2 separate regions of the Homo sapiens genome follow, and region 1 is linked to region 2. The links are contacts of gene promoters, found by promoter capture Hi-C in blood cells and fetal thymus (Javierre and others, 2016). All regions are on one chromosome and are shown on one strand. Each heading gives the region's core, a stretch centred on a gene start or on the middle of the fragment in contact. The rest is flanking DNA. Distances are from core to core; before and after follow the strand shown. Region 1 overlaps PCDHA1 (protocadherin alpha 1). Region 2 holds the start of PCDHA5 (protocadherin alpha 5).

The links. The method cuts DNA at HindIII sites, captures the fragments that hold promoters and counts their contacts. A CHiCAGO score of 5 or more calls a contact.
Region 1: a contact is called between a fragment that was not itself captured here and the fragment with the promoter of PCDHA5 in region 2, in 1 of 17 cell types (monocytes). The highest score is 5.0, in monocytes.

The regions. Positions count from the first base shown.
Region 1 is chr5:140,930,967-140,938,279 of GRCh38, reverse strand. The region is part of intron 1 of PCDHA1 (protocadherin alpha 1); the gene reads right to left. All of the region lies in intron 1 of PCDHA2 (protocadherin alpha 2), which reads right to left. The region is part of intron 1 of PCDHA3 (protocadherin alpha 3); the gene reads right to left. All of the region lies in intron 1 of PCDHA4 (protocadherin alpha 4), which reads right to left. It also overlaps PCDHA5, PCDHA6, PCDHA7, PCDHA8, PCDHA9 and PCDHA10, and 5 more genes. Among named protein-coding and RNA genes, the nearest start is that of PCDHAC1, 8.3 kb to the right of the region's middle. The HindIII fragment of the contact is 499 bases long and covers 1,306-1,804 here.
Region 2 is chr5:140,816,749-140,824,158 of GRCh38, reverse strand. It overlaps PCDHA5 (protocadherin alpha 5), which reads right to left and starts at 2,546. Exons shown (of 4, transcript NM_018908.3): 1 at 32-2,546. The coding sequence starts at 2,383. All of the region lies in intron 1 of PCDHA1 (protocadherin alpha 1), which reads right to left. All of the region lies in intron 1 of PCDHA2 (protocadherin alpha 2), which reads right to left. All of the region lies in intron 1 of PCDHA3 (protocadherin alpha 3), which reads right to left. It also overlaps PCDHA4 and PCDHA@. The HindIII fragment of the contact is 13,774 bases long and covers 1-6,082 here.

The DNA of each region.
Region 1 (7,313 bases), core at 306-2,805, 120 kb before region 2:
GCAAGAAAACTATGTGATTAGAAAGTTTTTAAAAGACCAGGCATGGTGGCCTATGCCTGTAATCCCAGCACTTTGGGAGGCTGGCGTGGGAGGATTGCTTGAGCCCAGGAGCTCCAGACTAGCCTGGGCAATGTAGTGAGACTCTATCTCTATTTTTTTAAAAAAAGAGAGAAAGTAAAAAATACAATAATAAAACTAACATTATTTGGGAATAGCATGACAGTATATGTAGAAAACCCAAAATATAAAAATATGAGATTTTACTATTTAGCAAGAACATTGGATACAAAGTTAACATAAAATCAGTATTATTTCTATATACTTTCAACAAAAGCCAATTATCAAATTAAACTTTTTTTTTTTTTTTTGAGACGGAGTCTCACTCTGTCGCCCAGGCTGGAGTGCAGTGGCGCGATCTCGGCTCACTCCAAGTTCCGCCTTCCAGGTTCATGCCATTCTCCTGCCTCAGCTTCCCGAGTAGCTGGGACTACATACGCCCGCCACCACGCCCGACTAATTTTTTGTATTTTTAGTAGAGACGGGGTTTCACCGTGTTAGCCAGGATGGTCTTGATCTCCTGACCTCGTGATCCGCCTGCCTCAGCCTCCCAAAGTGCTGGGATTACAGGCGTGAGCCACCATGCCCTGCCTTTCTTTTTCTTTTTAGATGGAGTATCACTCTGTTGCCCAGGCTAGAGTGCAGTGACGCGATCCCAGCTCACTGCAACCTCTGCCTCGCAGGTTCAAGCAATTCTCCTGCCTCAGCCTCCTGAGTAGCTGGGATTACGGGTATGTGCCAACATGTCCAGCTAATTTTTGTATTATAAAATTAAACTTTTAAAATAGCATTAAAATATCAGCTATCTAATAAAAGTTGTGCAATACCCCTATATACACATACACACACATAAACATTAAGATAAAATAATAAAATAAATGGAAGAAGCCGGGCGCGGTGGCTCACGCCTGTAATCCCAGCACTTTGGGAGGCCGAAGCGGGTGAATCACGAGGTCAGGAGATCGAGACCATCCTGGCTAACACGGTGAAACCCCGTCTCTACAAAAAATACAAAAAATTAGCCGGGCATGGTGGCGGGCGCCTGTAGTCCCAGCTACTCGGGAGGCTGAGGCAGGAGAATGGCATGAACCCGGGAGGCGGAGCTTGCAGTGAGCCGAGACTGCGCCACTGCACTCCAGCCTGGGCGACAGAGCGAGACTCCGTCTCAAAAAAAAAAAAAAAAGATAAATGGAAGAATATACCTTGTTAATCGGTTGTCTGTCTCAATATTGTCAATGTTAACAAGCTTCATATTTTTATAGATTCAATAAAGATCAAAATAAGATATTTTCAATATACCCCATATTTTCTACAGATTCAATATAGTGCCAATTAAAATCAAAGCAGGGTTTTTTAAAATAGAAACTGAGAAGCTGAATCTACAATTTATATAGAAATGCAAAGGGCCAAAAATAGCTAAGTTAATCTTGAAGCAGAATAACAAAGTGAGAGAACTTACACAATTAGATATCAATACAAATGAAAAGTTACTATATTTAACACAGAATGTATTGGCACAAGAATAGACAAGTTGACCAATGAAACAGAATAGACAGTCCAGAAACAGAATATATAAAGTCACGTTGCTTATGACAAAGGTAGCACTGCACAGTAGCAGCGAGGAAAGTAGGCAATCTAACTGGATTTACAAGTGGAAAATATAAATCTTGACTTCTACATTGCACTATATTCAAAAGCAATTTCAGGTAATTTAAGATCTAAATGTGCAAGTTAAAACAAGAAAGCTTCCAGAACTACAGCAACCACTAAACAGATGTGGTTATTTAAGCTTAAATTAATTAAAATTAGTAACATTAAAAATTGAGTAGCCCAGTTTCACTAGCCACATTTCAAGTGCTCAGTAGCTACACATTCCATATATGCAGATAGAGAAAATTTATAGCATGTCAGAAAGTTCTATTGGATAGCAATGTTATAGAAGAAAACACAGGAATATATCTTCATGACTTGAAGCAGGATATGTTTTCTTTAAAAGGATAGAAAGAATACTAAATAAAAAAGACAACTTTGGCTGGGCGTGGTGGTTTAGGCCTCTAATCCCAGCACTTTAGGAGGCCAAGGCGGGCAGATCACTTAAGGTCAGGAGTTCGAGACCAGCCTGGCCAACATGGTGAAACCCTGTCTCTACTAAAAGTATAAAAATTAGCCGGGTGTGGTGGTGGGTGCCTGTAATCCCCGCTACTCGGGAGGCTGAGGTGGGAGAATCGCTTGAACCCGGGAGGCAGAGATTGCAGTGAGCCAAGATTGTACCACTTTACTCCAGCCTGGGCAACAGAATGAGAATCTGTCTCAAAAAAAAAAAAAAAAGATAATATTGATAAATTGGAGCTCATTAATTGCTAATCAAAAGACACCATTAAGCAGTATGGAATATGTGTAAATACTATACTACTATGAAATAATCTCGTTTATATTTTTAAGTGAAAAAACTCAAAGTGGGGAAGAATGTGTATTGTATGGAATAATAGATACTAGACTTCTCTAAATATATTTTGTTTTATAAGTTTATTTTGGAGCCATGTAAATATTTCACATAATTATAAAAGAAAATTAAAATTTAAAAAGCAAGCCCTAAATTTGAAAGCGACTTGAAAAAAGCCTAGCTCTGTATCTAGCTGGTGGCTTAACTACACAGAGAGGAACTTTTCCAAGATACTTTAAAACACAATAATTTGACTGTACATGCCTACTGGGCATTTGTAAGGATGTGCCTTATAAATGAAAAGAATGACAAAAACTTAAACTGCTACAGTATCATATTATTTCTGTAGTGCTGAAATTGTTTTCTAAGTCCATTGTTTGAGTCCCGTGGGATAACAAATGAGTAATTCTGTTGACGTTAATGAAAACTGGGATTTGACGTATGGGAGAAATAGGAATGTAAGATTGATGAAGTTAAGTAAAAACCTCGGAGTGCTGAACTTTATTAGATTAGTATAAACATGTGATGTATTTTATCTTTTAAAAAATAGACATCCCTTAGCTCAGTAGCTGAAGATACCTAGAAACAGCAACTGACCCAGCAGCAATAAGCACACCTGTTGTTGAGATTATATCTCTAAGTATCATCTTTCACTAAAAATAAGTGAAAGCTCTTTGAAAAATGGCTGATTCTGGGAAAGGAAATGTACAAGATAATCTGAACATCTTGTAATACCAGAAATCAAGGAAGCATTCAAAAGACTATTAAGACTCACATGAAAAGGATTCAGGGTGTTATCACTGGGGAAAAGTGGGTGACAAGCACATGGGATCTCTCTATACTAGTTTTGTAACTTTATGTGAATCCATAATTATTCCAAAATAAAAGGTTTAAAACAAGATACACAAACACACTCACAAAGACTCAGGAGCAAAGCTGAACAGTTCCCAACTTGCCAAAGTTAGCATAATTTGATCATTAAAAAGATAATTGACATGGATTGGGCCATATCAAATATGTTTAAGTCAATGAGTTCATAATGACACCTAAAAAAGGCCTTGGTCCTTTTTGTAAGATGGCCAGGAATCAATTCATTGTTTTGAATACTGCTAAACAAAGGGGAAGAATCAAACATTTATCCTGCCTTTCCTGTGTGAACTGTACCTCAGGCTAATCAAATAGTTGAAGACCCATTACAGAAATGTTACAATTAATTAAAAAAAAGAAGAAATGATAGAATTAGAACGGTAGCTCTCGAAGTGTGGTCTATGGACCCTTTGGGTGTTTATGAGGTGAATATAATTTTCAAAATAATGTTAAAACATTATTTGCATTTTTCACTATATTTACACTTGCATTGATAATGCAAAAGCATTGGTGGGTAAAGCTGGCCACCATAGAACCACAGAAGGAGTCAAAGCAGTGGCTCCACACTGTACTGGTGGTTATTACATTCATGATTGGACATTTGCAGTAAGAAAAATACCAGTAAGAATGCCCTTGATGAAGCACTGATTATTATTAATTTTGATAAATCTCCACAATTAAGTACAAATCTTTTAAACATTTTGTGTGAGGAAATAGAAATGAAAAGTATGTTTAGAGTACTTCTGTTGCACACTGAAATATAAACATATAAGGAAGGAAATAAATTAATAAAGTATGAAAATTAATAAAATAGAAAGCAAACATACAACAAAGCGAACCCAAAACACCAAAAGTTAGCCTTGGAAAGACTAATATCATTAATAAACTACTTCCAAGTCTAGTCAAGAAAAATGAGAGGTGACACTAACACCAGGATTGAAAAGGGAAACATCACTACAGATCCTGCAGATGTGAAAAAAAGTCACAACAGGACATTATAAACAACTTTATGCCAAAATATTCAAAAGTACAGATAAAACTAACATATATCTGAAAAAATTAAAGGTACAGGAATGAAATAGGAGCAATAAAAATACAAAGAAATTTGATCTCAATTAAAATTTTCCTACAAAGAAAACTGTAGGTACAGAGAGCTTCACTAGTGAATTCTACCAAATATTTAAGAAAGCTGTATCACCAATCTCAGTAAATGTGTCCGAGGAATAGGAAAAAAAATGTGAGAGAGACAGAGAGAGAGACAGGATTTCCAACTTGTTTAACAGGGCCAGCCTAACCTAATAAGAAAAGAAAAAGACAAATCAACCTAAAAACCCACTATTAAGACTTCTTAATTGGTTTTTATTTTATATTAACATTATTTTGAGTTTAAACAAAACAGCTGTAGTCTTTGCTTAACAATTCTAAAGAATAACCATAATGTGTTTGAATTCAGAGTATATTTTGAAGGTATGTCATTAGAGTGCCCCTATGAACACAGAATATCTGTAGATGGTAACCAGATGGCTCTAGGAACAGCCAAGGAATTTGGGATGGGTTAGAAATAAAGTGTTTATCTTTCTCTACAGCACAGGAGAATACGAGATTGCATATTTATTTCCAGATTCCAAAACAAGTTCCAAATGAATATATAATAACCTTTTGTGTTTATAGTCCTTTCTTTTTCATAAATGCAATATAACAGACATGTAATTTATTTATATCCTGAACCATTATCTTATGCCATCAATTAAAATTGGGAACAAAATGAGTGGCTATCTACCTTTATTATTTAGCTTTGTTTCTTAAGAACAACCTTTACCAACAAATTCCTTACTTCCCATAATACTTTAGTCAGGATCCTGGACTGTAATCCATATTCACTTGAAGTTCTGCCAAGTGTTAATATTTCCGATATTCATATGACATGCATTTGAGCATTGTAAAAACCTTTCAGCAATTTAGTCCACCTTCATTCCAACCTAGCTAAGTTAATTTAGTTGTTGAAATATTATTGTTTCCCTCTAACTGAAAATATTGAAGACAACAAAAGACAATAAGTCATTAACATTATGAGACACATTGTCAATACTTTCCCACTTATATGTTTCCAAGGTATTGCTTTTCTCTTATGTCCACTCAAATTATAATGTTCTTTTTCTTTCCTTTTTACTGATTTGAGGGTCTATATTATACAATATTATTGTGTTGTCTATATGAGTTTTTTAATTTGAATATATTTCATATGTCATGCAAACTTCCTTAGTTTCATCATTCTAAAGTTTTTTAGTGTGGTTATCAGCTTCAAAGTCAAAATAGATATACAAAACATCTAATTACCCTATGGGAAAGTCTACTTGTGGAATGTATGTTAAATAAAGCACCTTGAATGCCACAAACATTCTACTACTGTTAACAAATGACATTGCAAAGAGGAGATATCCTATTTCCTATATACCCTGGCAAAAAAGAAGATGCTTTAATTCCAGGTGAACAATACACTAATATAACATTGGTATGTTGAAACTATGTATAACTTTCATGTGGAAATTTAATAAGGCCAGTTGTATGGTAAGTGTTTCATGCATTTTTGCTACATTAATATATTTATACCTTTAAAAATTGTCAATGCAGTTTTTAATAAGTAGAAATTTATATCTCAGAGGTACCCTCTTAGATACCATTCTAAAAAATTTAAATTGCCCATCAAGAATATTAACAGAAAAAAATGGACATGAGGTACACATTGTCTAATTGTTATACAATCAGTGAATCAATTTTGTTTATATCTTAAATATTATCAATTGGAAATACAGAGATAAAAACCATGTTTTCCTGAATTTCTTAAACTGATAATTTTTAGTATTACAGGCTATGTTAATATATACTGTAAACTTACCGTAAACTAAAATGAAAGAACTTAGAATTTGAGCAAAATATAAACACATATGCATCAACATGATTCTGTAAGACTCAGACACACATTATAATCATTGTTAAATGTCATGCTTTTCAAATGATTTGAAATAAAATGAAAGCAATAAATATTTTATTTCTAGAATCCTGTTGTTATTAAGGCATTCAGGATACTATGACAAGAATTCTTTTCTAAAGAATTAAGATCAGATCAATAGGTAATTGAACAGGAAGAAGTAAATAACAAATGCCTTTGTGAATTACAAATACCCCATATTTATAGAAGTTATTTTATTCATGGTTTTATGAATCACAATTCATTTATTTATAAGGAAATATCCAGCCCACAACAATTATTAGCAGACCAATGAGCTACCTAAAAAGCAAAATATCAACAATGATGGAAAAAGACTGTTCAACTGAATGAATGGGATGGTACAATATTCCTGCACATATGAACAGTATATCTCTATTATTTTGTTAATCATTCATATATGTTTAAAAATTTGGTTTGAAGGGTTGTTTTTTCCTCTGTCATTCCTATATTTTTCCTTTTAAATAGCTAATTTTCCTTCTAACTTCTAGATTCATCAGCCTTCCTATCGCTTACTTATGTTTCCTTTCTAGTCTAGTGAAAATGTGTTTCTAAAAAAAATTCCTCACTCCCAAACTTTACAGCCATTACTGGTATTCTCCTCTCTTTTTGTTACAGAAAGCAATGAAAATAAAAGAAATAAATAGTGAAATTTCTTGGTAGGAAAAGTGTTCACATATTAAGTGCTCTGATACCTGAAATACTAGCATTGTAGTGCACCAATTTCCTTCCCTAAAATTAACTGAGATTCTATTAAATAGTATCCACTGCAAATATCACAATGTAATGATGTGCATACCTATTAATTCCTTTGTCATCTGTAGAACTGGACTCATACTTAGTCCCAGACACAGCATTGAAGTTTTTCTTGCTAGCTCTACAATCAGAAAATTCCTCTGTTATGTTATTAGTGTAGGTCATGAGGAAGAAAATAATCAT
Region 2 (7,410 bases), core at 1,297-3,796:
GAAAGATGGATGTTAATATTAGAAAACTCACGTTGTCTGTAGAGGTGGGACCCTGAGGAAGGCTTGGACTGAAGGCCATGAGGTCTGTTTTGGGTGGAGCTTCCCCAGAGCACACCCTCTGTCTCCTCTGCTGCGAGTACGACCAGCTCCCCACCGCGCTGGAGCACAACAGAGTGGGCTTGCCCCGTGTGCACACGGCCTCGGTGGGCTGCGCCGAGCACCGCAGCGCGGTGTACAGCAGCAGCGTGAGCACCAGCAGGCTGGACACCGCACAGATGGCGATGATCAGGTACACGTTGACATCCACCAGGGCAGCCTCGGGACCCACAGCGCCCGCCGACGCCCGCGATGAGGCCTTCGGCGCCTGGCCACTTTCCACCAGCGACACCAGCACTGTGGCTGTGGCTGTCAGCGGGGGCTCTCCATGGTCCTTCACCAGCACCAGAAGGCGGTGGCGCGGTGCTTCGGTCTCATCCAGAGAGCGTGTTGTGCTGATCTCGCCTGTGTACAGCCCCACGCGGAACGGGATGCGCGCACTGCCAGGCGCTGGCTGCAGCTCATACGAAAGCCAAGCGTTGTAGCCCGAATCAGGGTCCACTGCGCGCACCTTCGCCACCACGTGGCCCGCACCCACTGACCTCGGCACCAGCTCGCTCACTGCGCCGCCGGTGCCACCCACTCGAGGCACCAGCAGCGCCGGCGCGTTGTCGTTCTCGTCCAGCACGAACACCTGCAGCGTCACGTTGCTGCCCAGAGGCGGCACGCCCGCGTCGCGCGCGCTCACCTGGAACTGCAGCAGCTCCACTTCCTCGTGGTCCAGCGGCTGCAGCGCGTACACCTTGCCGCTCTCCGCGTGCACCGAAACGTAACTCGACAGCGGGCGCTCGCCCACCCGCCGCTCCACCAGCGAGTAGGACACCAGGGCGTTCTCCTGCGCGTCCGCGTCCCGTGCAGACACCGTGAAGATGTGGCAGCCTGGCGGGTTGTTCTCCTTCACGAACACGGTATACTGGGGCTGCGCGAACGCCGGAGCGTTGTCGTTCACGTCGGCCACTTCCACAGACACGCTGGCGGTGGCCCACAGCGAAGGCGAGCCCCCGTCCCGCGCGGTCACCACCAGCTCATAGACCGACACGCTCTCGCGGTCCAGGGCGCTGTCCAGCACCAACGAGTAGTAATTCTTGAAGGTGGACACCAGCTTGAAGGGAACGTGGGGCATTAGGGAGCAGGTCACCTGCCCGTTGGCACCTGAGTCACGGTCAGACACGCTGATCAGAGCAATGACCGTGCTGAGTGGAGCGTCCTCTTTGACAGGCAGGAAAAGGGTGGTTATGGCCATCTCTGGGGTATTATCATTCACATCCAGGAGTTTCACTACTACTTTACAGTGTCCTGATAATGGGAATGTACTTTTATCCATGGCATCAATATTAATTTCATATGAGTTATAGTCTTCATAATCCAGTTCCCCGTTAACTTTTATTTCACCAGTATTAGAATTAATTATAAATTTGGACTTTACATCGTCAAGAACAAGATTACTAAAGAAATACACTATTTCCTTATTGATGCCCTCATCTGCATCTGAGGCGTTCAGTTTAATAACTAATGTCCCACTTGGTGCATTTTCCAACAATCTGACATTATAAATGGATTTATCAAATTCTGGGGCGTTATCATTAGCATCCAATACATTGATCAACAACTGAACTGTACCTGTTAGTTCGGGTTTTCCTCCATCAGTTGCAATCACTAATAAACGGTGTTCTTGTGTTTCTTCTCTATCTAAGGATTTCCTCAAAACCAGCTCTAAAAAGTTCGTTTCTTCTTCATTTGTTTTAACATCTAAGTCAAAATATTCGTTTGGATTTAACCTGTATCTCAATTGTGCATTTGCTCCAATATCCAAATCCGACGCGCCCTCTAGCGGAAACCGCGAATCTGGCATTCTTGACTCTAAAATGAATAATCTTTGTTCTTGTCTGGAGAACCTGGGCGGATTGTCATTGATGTCCTTCACTGCCACCTCCACATGGAAAACCTGCAGCGGCCTGTCCACGATCACCTCCAGGTGGATGCTGCACTCCGCCCTCCGCCGGCACAGCTCCTCCCGGTCGATCCGAGAATTCACAAACAAAATGCCATTCTGCAGATTTACCTCCAGAAGGTCCCCGCGGCCCTTGGACGCCACCCGGAACAGGCGCGGCACCAGCTCCGCCAGCTCCAGCCCTAGGTCCTGCGCGATGCGGCCAACGAAGGTTCCGTGTTTGGCTTCCTCCGGGATCGAGTAGTGGAGCTGGCCGCTCCCTGCCTTCCAGTAGGCAAGGAGAAGCCAGAGCAGCAGGAGCCGGGATCCCAGACTTCCTCTCCGGGAATATACCATCTCAATCTCGTTCCAATTATGAGCTTTCTATTGCATCACCACACAATGTATTTTGTAAATTCAATTCCCAATTAACTATATATTTTTTATATTATCGCCTTTCTGAGCTTCTTGGCACAGCCAAAAATGGAAGGTTCTTTTCCTTTCTGTCTAAGGAAAATCTACTCACTGTATTCCTTTGAGGCTGGGAAGGGAGAAAAACCTTCCGGTGTCCAGCGACATCATGTGGATGAAAGGGTAAGTGTTTTATTTTGTTTTGCTTTATTTAGCTTATATTCGTCAATATTTCTCAAGTATTCTCACTTTCAATGACATGATTCTTATTCTTTAAATCACTTATCTCTAGTCAAAATATATCATTAAACTCTATCTTAAAATGCGTCAATATAAGTGCGTCATTAAAATATTACAGAAAAATACATCTAAAGTCATGAAACCCCAATCCTTACTAGAGAAATTTGTGCTGGTGTATTTTATATAGGGAGGAGTTTATATATTTCCAAACTGATAAAAATAACTTTTAAGAGTTAAAGTTTTGACTTTTCTCATCTCTATTTAAACATATCTAATTAAAACTTTTGAGTTTTTTCTGTATTAGTCAATGGAATGTTTGTATGCTATCTCCGTGTTACTCATAAAACAAATTTTTATTCCAATTTCACTGTTTAATAGTGACATTTTGTTGATGTTATTTTCAAAAACAACTAAAACTATTTTAATGGCATTCTTACCTGAGTTTCTTCTCGGAGTTCTAATTTTCAAATCGATGAAAACCTATTTCTTTATCTATAACACCTATCTACTTTTTGTATTGACTCAAAAACTGTAATGGGGATATTTCAGCTTTCTAGAAATCAAAAGCATAATAGAACGACTTTGGTAAATCGTCTTTGCACTATTTTCAAATTAGAAGCATCTAGATAGCATTTCTTCAAGTTGCTATTACTGATAAAGCAATTATTAAAAATTGTAAAATACATACCTTTGTACTTACATAACAAGTCAAAATCCTAATATTGTCTATATGACATACTATTTCACAAAATGTTTAGGTTCCAGTAAATATAATCATGTTGAAAAGAATATCATTTTATTAACCAGGCTATCTTTATATTAGTTTAATTACTTTTTAATCTCCCAACTGTTTACTGGATGGTATGATTTGAACACGACCTAGAAAATTTAGTAAACTTCACTTAATAAATATGGGCAAAAGAAAATATCACCAAGTTTTCTATTGAAGAAATAGCTAACATTCTGCTTGTATATATACTCCATAAAATTCCTTAAATATTACAAAATATCCCTTACCTGTGAAGACAAGAGGGACCAAGAGATTAGCAATTCTATTGTTGGATACTTTTACATTTAAAATATAGCTTGATAAGAAAAAAGAAATTACCAGAAAATGCAAAGTCAGAGGAAATTCACTTGATTTCTGGAATTCAAACTTGTAAAGAAACAAGATATTGTCATAGAATTGTTTCTGATACAATCTTTAAAGATATATTTACCAGTTCCCTTATAAGATTTTTACTATCTCTATTATCATGACTTTTCACTAATATTTGGATCGTTGAAACACAAATCAATTTCCCAGACTATTTGCCTAATAGTTTTCATACTGATAATTTTGAAATATTTTAATACACAATGGTTAAAAACATAAGAAAATGATAATAAATATTTAGAAAACAGCATTAGCTGATGTTAGCCACTTTCTATTATATAACAGTAAATAATGTAAAACTACAAAGCTATGGAATAAATTATAGTAGAATTTTATACAAAATACACAAAGATAACCTTTGAAAAAAGTAAATATTAAGTATTTAAAAGGCAAATTAACAATGTAGTATTAACAATGTGTACATTGTAATCTGCAGAGTATTATGATAAATACTGAGTATTTTAAAAGATATACTCAATGGAGAAAAAGTCATCAACAATATCAGTTCACATGCTCCTCTCAGTCTGGAAAAAATATCTCATGTACTTATATAGATATTTCAGGAGGAAACAAGACTCTTGACTTTTGATTCACTTTCATATCTGTTAAATTATATTTACTTTTTAAATTATCACTTGCATTTGTGCTACAGTGATCAACTCTTATTTTGAATATTCCTTTCTCAGTAACTATAGATTATCCAATCTGAATTTCATGGGAGACTCCACAGGAAAAGAACATTTTAAAAAATCTTCTTCTAAGCTATTTTCTTCAATCAAATGTTACAGATTATTTTCTTGACTGATCCAGTTAACCTCTCCTTTAGATATTTCAGTCATGTTTAAGCATCATTGTGTAAACAGAAGTTCTTCCTTGAGAAAAAAATTTAGATTTAAAACTGTGTAGTATATTAAAGTGTCTCCATTTAATTCACTAAAAGCCTTTAGAAATATACTAACACAAGAAAATTTAATCTTCATAAGGGTACAAATGTCCTTTATTCCTTACAAAACCCAGAATAAAATTTTAATAAGCTATATTTTTCTTCTCTTATCTATAGAAATTATATAGATATACCAGATTGCAGAGAAGAGGAAATGTTGAAGCAATTGTATAAAAATGTATAAATAATTTATGCACATATGTCATTTGATTCTTCAAAAATTAATTCTGTATAAAAATTAATTTATTCTATTATAAGGATAGTAAGAAAGGATACCATGAGCATATAATACACATCTTAGCGCTGCCTGTATAATGAGTCACAGAGGAAGGTATAACTGCCCTATAAGGGAATGTGCTAAAATATCCATATTATATATCCTCTGTGGATAGAAAATATGAGAATAGTTCTAACATATCCCTGAGATAGTGAATATCAATGTTCATGTCAAATAATCTCACTTAATAGAAAGGGACAATGAAGCTAAATTCAAGAGATGCAATCTCAGGCATCTTTTTTATGCCTCTACCTATAGTTGATTCTATACAACTGGGTGACAAAGAGTCTCACTCTGACCGAGGCTGGAGTGCAGTGGTACAGTCAAAGTTCATTGCAGCCTCAGGCTCAAGCCATCCTCCAACTTCAGCCTCCCAAGTAGCTGGGACCACAGGTGTGCACCACCACATCTAGCTAATTTTTTTCATTTTTTGTAAAGATGGAGTCTCCCTATATTGCTCAGGCTCATCTTGAACTCCTGGGCTCAAGCAATCCTCCTGTCATGGCCCACACAGGTGTTGGGATTATAGGCATGAGCCACCATGCCTGGCCTGATTCATTATTAAATGGAGAAAAATGATAATCTCTCAGGTTATATCTGATTTTAAAATCCAAGATCAAGTGAGTGAAAACTTTGTGGGAGGAAAGTTTCTTTTGACATTAGCCAGTACCCAAGTTAGAAATATATTTTTAAAAAGGAAAATAAAATTCTAAAATGGAAAAATGCCACGATTCAAGTTAAGAATTCAATCAATGACTTTGACAGTGGCCTAGAATAACAAGATAAAATTCCTAAAGTAAAAGATGGGTCAGAATAAAACATGGATTATGAAACAAAGAGAAAAAGTGATTTAAAAACAGAAATGGCACATAAAAGACAAGGAATATGGTGAAAAGATTTAACATACATGTACTTATAGTCACAGAAGAATATAAGAGAAAATATGAAGTAGAAGCCGTATTTGAAGGCATACTGCTAAATCTTCTCTTAAACTGATAAAATATTATCAACCCACAGATATAAGAAGCTTTGAAAACTGCAAGCGAGATTAAAAACAAAGCAAATTAACACTGGGCACATGATAGTAAAGCTGTTAAAAGTGAAAAACAGAGTAAGTATACAAAGTAGCTAGACAGAAAAAAAGACACACTAATTGAACAATAAACTTGACAGCCATCATCTCAAAAGAAGACCATGGAATGTCATCTTAAAAGTGCTGGCAAAAATAACTTTCATTCAATACCCAAAACTGTTTCTCAAAAGTGATAGTAAAATTAAGACATTTCCAGATATATAAAAACGTAAAGGTTTCTTTACCAGCAGGCCACACTAAAGGAAATGTTAATTTCTTCAGAAGGAAAATGATCCCAGAAAGAAACATATATAGGTGTTAACAAAACAATGATAATAATGTACTGTGTGTCTAGAACATATAAATAATTGAAAGGCATATCAGTAACAAAAAGTAGGGTACAAGTAAATGGTATAATGATTCAAGGTCTTAGCGTTGCCTGGAATTATTAAAATTATTGATTTAATTGAGGTAATAAGTCAAGGATGTGTGTTATAATCAACAAAAGAGGAAATCAATAAAATAATTTGTAAAAGCATATATAGCTTAAAAAGATAACAGAGGTAGTGACATCAGCAAGATGCTGTTATAGGAATCCCCAGACCCTCCACAGGTATACCAACTCAACAACAATACAAGGACCAATTCCCATGGTGATAAGTGCCGAAACCAGTTAAGAGGGTCCTGGGCTCCAAGCAAGTGTAAAACTAGCTGGGCACTTTTCTGGGGCACTTTCCCTATAGTCCCATCCAGCAGCACAGTTCCATTCAAACAGGGGGAAATTCCCAGCTCCTGTCTTCTCCCTGAGAAGGGAAAGAGAAAGTAAAGCATGCATTCAGTGTTCTGACTTTTCAGGGGAGCTGTCTTGCATATCTCAGAGCACTGATGGAACCTGGCATATTCTAAAATCCTGAGGGCAGCTCAGAATAATAAAGAGCTGGGTGGCGGGCTGATGCTCCTCAGGACCTGTGATACAGCACACAGAGAGAAACTCAGCTCAGCACTCTCTCTCTCATGAGGGAAAGAGAGAGTAAAATGCATCCAAAGTTCCTGAATTTTAGTGGGCAGTCCAAGTTTCTGTCTCACTTGACTCCAGGCACTGATAGGATTCAGCAGAATCTATAACTGAGGGCTTCTCAGAACCTAAAAGAGCTGAGTGAATACTGCTGCTCCAGAGGGCCCACAGTACAGCACACAGACACCACAGAGGGAAAAAGATTAGAGCATCTTAAAAAAAAAAGCTGGCAGATCCCTCTAATTAGGAATTATACACACAAGTCCATAG